Regions from separate parts of the Homo sapiens genome. Here region 2 is linked to region 1. Evidence: promoter capture Hi-C in 16 types of primary human blood cells and fetal thymus (Javierre and others, 2016). All regions are on one chromosome and are shown on one strand. The core of a region is centred on a gene start or on the middle of the fragment in contact, and the rest is flanking DNA. Distances in the headings are between cores, read along the strand shown. Region 1 holds the start of OR2AE1 (olfactory receptor family 2 subfamily AE member 1). Region 2 overlaps CYP3A5 (cytochrome P450 family 3 subfamily A member 5).

Region 1 (3,086 bases), core at 245-2,744:
TAAGACGGAGTCTCGCTCTGTTGCCCAGGCTGGAGTGCAGTGATGCGATCTCCACTCACTGCAAGCTCCGCTTCCTGGGTTCACACCATTCTCTTGCCTCAGCCTCCCGAGTAGCTGGGACTACAGGCGCCCGCCACCACGCCCGGCAAATTTTTTGTATTTTTAGTAGAGACGGGGTTTCACCGTGTTAGCCAGGATGGTCTCCATCTCCTGACCTCGTGATCCACCTGCCTCGGCCTCCCAAAGTGCTGGGATTACAGGCGTGAGCCGCCGCGCCCGGCCAGGTGTGTGCATTTTTAATCTGGCCATTAAGAAGCGCCCCAGCGGCCGGGTGCGGTGGTTCACGCCTGTAATCCCAGCACTTTGGGAGGCCGAGGCGGGGGGATCACGAGGTCAGGAGATGGAGACCATCCTGTCGAACACGGTGAAATCCCCGTCTCTACTAAAAATACAAAAAATTAGCCGGGTGTGGTGGCAGGCGCCTGTAGTCCCAGCTACTACGGAGGCTGAGGCAAGAGAATGGCATGAACCCGGGAGGCGGAGCTTGCAGTGAGACGAGATCGGGCCACAGCATTCCAGCCTGGGCGACAGAGCAAGACTCCAACTCAAAAAAAAAAAAAAAAAAAAAAAGAGGCGCCCCAGCTTCTGCAGGATATCCACACCGCCAATTTCAGAGACAACAAGAACTGACATGGGTTTCAGTCTGCCTTTGTGGGATTGCAGCTCATGCTTGTGGGTTCCAGCATGACTTTGATCTGCCACTCTTTATATCCATTTTTTTTTTCCTGACTACTTGCCCTCTGGAATTAAAGTTCCAGCATCAGACACAAAGGTAACAGCCACGCATAGATTGCCTAACCAGCTTCCACAATTGTATAAGAGAAATCTCTTAGTGTTATAGCTTTTCTAGTAAAATCCTCACTGATAAAATAAGCAACGCCCCCAAGCTTTTCTCCAAACTGTCTCTCTGTGTGTGTCTGTATAGAGAGAGAGAGCTTAAAAATCTGCCTTCACAAACATGATCACTCTGAAATCTCAGAATATCTAGACTCCATTAAGTATCAAACTTCAAGTCTCTTCTCATTAAGAAAGACAAATGTGTGTGTGTGTGTGTGTGTGTATACATATGTGTGTTTTGGAAGCCTAGGAAGTAAATGGGGAATAAATATATACACACATACATATACATACACACACACACACACACACATATATATCTTTCTTAACGAGAAGAGACTTGAAGTTTGATAATAGAGTCCAGATATTCTGAAATTTCAGAGTGATTATGTTTGTGAAGGCAGATTTCTAAGCTCTCTTTTAAAAAAAGGTTATTTGAATAATTAGAGAGGTTGAATAATTAGAAACGGAAATTTTTTTCACAGGTTCTGTCCTCTATCAAAAGGTGCTTTTCCTTGGGTATACTGGACCCCAGTATTTCCAGTCACACTCTTTATCTCCACTCTCTGTTTCCTCAGGGATTGAGAAAGGGGACAATGTGGCAGAAGAATCAGACCTCTCTGGCAGACTTCATCCTTGAGGGGCTCTTCGATGACTCCCTTACCCACCTTTTCCTTTTCTCCTTGACCATGGTGGTCTTCCTTATTGCGGTGAGTGGCAACACCCTCACCATTCTCCTCATCTGCATTGATCCCCAGCTTCATACACCAATGTATTTCCTGCTCAGCCAGCTCTCCCTCATGGATCTGATGCATGTCTCCACAATCATCCTGAAGATGGCTACCAACTACCTATCTGGCAAGAAATCTATCTCCTTTGTGGGCTGTGCAACCCAGCACTTCCTCTATTTGTGTCTAGGTGGTGCTGAATGTTTTCTCTTAGCTGTCATGTCCTATGACCGCTATGTTGCCATCTGTCATCCACTGCGCTATGCTGTGCTCATGAACAAGAAGGTGGGACTGATGATGGCTGTCATGTCATGGTTGGGGGCATCCGTGAACTCCCTAATTCACATGGCGATCTTGATGCACTTCCCTTTCTGTGGGCCTCGGAAAGTCTACCACTTCTACTGTGAGTTCCCAGCTGTTGTGAAGTTGGTATGTGGCGACATCACTGTGTATGAGACCACAGTGTACATCAGCAGCATTCTCCTCCTCCTCCCCATCTTCCTGATTTCTACATCCTATGTCTTCATCCTTCAAAGTGTCATTCAGATGCGCTCATCTGGGAGCAAGAGAAATGCCTTTGCCACTTGTGGCTCCCACCTCACGGTGGTTTCTCTTTGGTTTGGTGCCTGCATCTTCTCCTACATGAGACCCAGGTCCCAGTGCACTCTATTGCAGAACAAAGTTGGTTCTGTGTTCTACAGCATCATTACGCCCACATTGAATTCTCTGATTTATACTCTCCGGAATAAAGATGTAGCTAAGGCTCTGAGAAGAGTGCTGAGGAGAGATGTTATCACCCAGTGCATTCAACGACTGCAATTGTGGTTGCCCCGAGTGTAGAGTGGAATAGGATAAGCTCCTTAAATTAATTCATATAAACCTCTAAAGTTTTTCAGGGAGATAGCTTCCTTATGCTGTTTTACTACTGGAAGAAAAACACATTTAACACACAATTCCAGTATTCCAGCTTGGTGTCAGGTATCCAAGCACTGTGGAGAACATTTGAGTAGATCTTTAGAGAATTAGGGAAAACTTTTTAAAAAGTCCCTTTGAAAGAAGACATATAAAGGTCACTGACACCCTGAAAAAAAGAAGGCAAGATAAAGATATAAGGGCCCTTATCTATTATTATTTTTATTAACAAAAATATATAAAACATGCCACCAGAGAGTATTTATGGAGTTTAAAATTGGAGTGTGTTGCTTACTTTTGGAAGCATGGGAAGTAAATGGTGAATGATGGCTGTTTGAAAGGGAGGATGCATGATATAAAAGTTGTATTCTTTTTTTTTTTTGTGACGGAGTCTCTCTCTGTCACCTAGGCTGGAGTGCAGTGGCACGATCTTGGCTCACTGCAACCTCCGCCTCCCAGGTTCAAGTGATTCTCCTGCCTCAGCCAGGAGTAGCTGAGTATTACAGAGTAGCTGGGATTACAGGCGCGTGCCACCATGCCTGGCTAATT
Region 2 (3,086 bases), core at 392-2,891, 210 kb after region 1:
GTGAGTTCTCAAGGTGCTCATCAGATATTTTGGTTCTAATTTTACTCTTCGTGTTCTTCATCCTTGAAAATAGTAGCTCACAAATGTAAGTGCTGCCAAAAAGCAATGACATGAACAAGGTGTGATTGTGAAGCAAGGGATATTTGTCATTGGGAAGACAGGTCTTACAAAAGTCCAGTAAAGAGGCAAAATCAAATTTTTCTATAAGTTGAACATCAGATTGCAGCTCTAGGCATTCCATTTCAAAATTGCCAGGTAACATATATATGTCGACTGAAAATGGAGTTGCAAATATACCAAAATATTGATGATTTTTTCAGAAATCTTGAAATACCTGTTTTCAAATTCCTGTATCAAATTGAAAAGCAAGGCTGCGTATTTTTGGCTGTTCACAGGACCATGTTTAGCCAACATGTCGAAATGCATAAAATTGTTTGCCTTAATTTGAGCTTGCCATAATTTCAGTTTCATATGGAATGCTGTTATGGTTTGAAACATTGTATTGTTAAGTTGGTTTTCAACTTGAAGACACAGGTTTAACTCACTTAAATGGGCCGTCAAACCCACTAAAAATGCTAAATCTGTAAGCCAGTTTTCATTGTCAAGTTCTGGCACCAATTTTGTTTGATACCATAAACAGCTTGATTTCACATCACAAAGCATAAAATCTTTACATTTTGCCTTGACTTAACCATCTTACTTCTAAAAAGTGAATGACTTGCTAGAGTCAGCATCCATACTTTTAAGGAATTCCTGAAACTAGCGATGATTCAATTCCTGGGCCCTTGTGAAATTTACAGCCTTGATGACAATTTGCATGACGTTATCTACTTTTAAAGCTTGTGCACATGGATTTTCTTGATGTATTATGCAATAATACTTCATCAAATGTGAGTTTTGTGTGGCAACTGCATCATCTATTAATTGTACAAGTCCCTCTCTTTTACCTACCATCGCCAGGGCAGCATCTGTAGCTATATCACATATGTTTACAAAGGACAAAGAAAATTGCTTTAACATATTTTTCACTGCTTCATATAAATCTCTTGATTTAGTTGTGTCTTTTAATAGCATGGTGACATTTCGATTTCTTCAGTGACATTATATTCATCATCAATACCTCTAATAAAAATAGCAAGTTGTGCCGTATCTGTAGTGTCAGTGCCTTCATCCATCACCAAAGCATAAAATTTTAAATTAGCAGTTTTACTCTCCAAACGTCTTTCAATAGATTTCCCAATTTCTCCAATTCTCCTGGCTATAGTCTGGTGAGACAAACTGATTTTAGAAATATCAGTTTCTCAAGGCAAATAATATCTACCACATCTTCCAGACATTGCTTAATAAACTCACCATCAGTAAATGGTTTTGATTTTTTTGCTATTAAATTTGCTACCACATAACTAGGTTTTACCTTACGATTGAGTCCGAGTTGTAACTTTTTAAAAAATCTTTTTTGTTGAAAAGACAGACTTTTTTTCAGTTCTGCTATTTTGTCCTTACAACACATACACACCAAATTTGTCAGCACGTTTTTGCATATAATGCCTCTTCAAATTGTAGTCTTTGAAAACTGGCACAAATTCCGTGGAAATTAAGCAGAGTGCTTCGCTATTTGCCTCAACAAGAAAAAGTCATTTGTCCACTTTTCATTGAACAATCTTCCTTCATCCATAATTTTTGTTTTTTAGGGTTTTCTTTTTAAGACATTGTGGAAGCCATTCTGGAATTAAAAGCATTATAATAGATAAGCAACTATATTTACTTTTATTATGGAAATTAACAGATAGGAAAATAGAACAGAAAGCAAGGTTTAATAATCAAATAAGAATACTTACATGTCTTCTAAATAATATTAAACACCTATCATCTACAAAGGTAGGTTGAAATATTATTGATAATTGCTGGGTTTTACTTGCCAAATTGCCACAAACACACCTAATACCTGACAGTGTCAATTCAACTGTCCGTGATTAGAAGATAACACACTGGAAGTCGCACACCACCATAAAACTGAAGCCACACATGCGTACAAATGGCGACAGTGTCTGGTGTACAGCAGCGCTCTGCCTTGTCCAGAATACACACTTGAATTCTTTGTCACAATTCACTTCACGTGGCACTGCAATAGCGTCCTCTCGCTCTTTGTTAGTTAATTTTAATGGCTTTTAATTTCTTCTTGCTGAACTGTTTGCAATTATAATGCAAATTATGGATACTAGTCCATTATTTGTGGATGTGACATACTCTGATTACCCCTTTCCATTCCATTGTTGTCTACGAAGTTCACACTTGAGAATCACATAGTCAAATTACAAAATTACAAAAAAAATTGCAAAAAAACTCAAAATGTTTTAAGAAAGTTTCCACATTTGTATTGGGATACATTCAAAGCCATCCTGGACTGCATGAGGCCTGCAGGCCACAAGTTGGACAAGCTTGAATTAAACCAATAGAACAATTTGGGTATAATCTATATCTTTACTATGTTCAGCCTTTCATCCCGTGAATATAGTATGCCTCTCCATTTCTTTAGCTTTTATTACTTTCCTCAACATTTTATAGTTTTCAGCATAGAGGTCCTGTACATCTTTTGTTAGATTTACACCAGAAATATTTCATTTTTGTTGGAGTAACTGTAAATGATACTGTTTTTCTTGTATTTTCAGATATTGATTATTGTTACATAGAAATGTGAATAATTTTGTTTGTTGATCTTGTATCCTATAGCCTTGCAGAACTTACCTATTCGTTCTAGAAATTTTTTTGTATATTCCTTGACATTTTATACATTGACAATTATGTCACCTGAAAATAGAGACAATTCTATTATTTCCTTTCCAATCTGTATGCCTTTTATTTCTTTTTCTTGTCTAGTGTATTAAGACATCAGGTATGCTCTTTAGTAAGAATGTTGAGAGTGGGCATTTTTTAGTTCTTCTTGATCTTGGAAAAACCATTCAGTCCTTCATCATTAAATGTGATTTAACTGAATGATTTTTTTACAGATTGTCTTTATCAAATGAAGGAACTGTCTCTCTCTTCCTAGTTTATTGAGATTTTATCATGACAGCTGGAAGTACACA

The links. Contacts are between HindIII fragments. The CHiCAGO score rates a contact against its expected background, and 5 or more counts as called.
Region 2: a fragment that was not itself captured here is called in contact with the fragment with the promoter of OR2AE1 in region 1 in 1 of 17 cell types (erythroblasts); the score reaches 5.7 in erythroblasts.

The regions. Positions count from the first base shown.
Region 1 is chr7:99,875,441-99,878,526 of GRCh38, reverse strand. It overlaps OR2AE1 (olfactory receptor family 2 subfamily AE member 1), which reads left to right and starts at 1,494. Exons shown (of 1, transcript NM_001005276.1): 1 at 1,494-2,465. The coding sequence starts at 1,494. The coding sequence ends at 2,465. The HindIII fragment of the contact is 12,247 bases long and covers 950-3,086 here.
Region 2 is chr7:99,667,732-99,670,817 of GRCh38, reverse strand. All of the region lies in intron 4 of CYP3A5 (cytochrome P450 family 3 subfamily A member 5), which reads left to right. It also overlaps a transcript of ZSCAN25 not described here. Among named protein-coding and RNA genes, the nearest start is that of CYP3A5, 11 kb to the left of the region's middle. The HindIII fragment of the contact is 1,599 bases long and covers 842-2,440 here.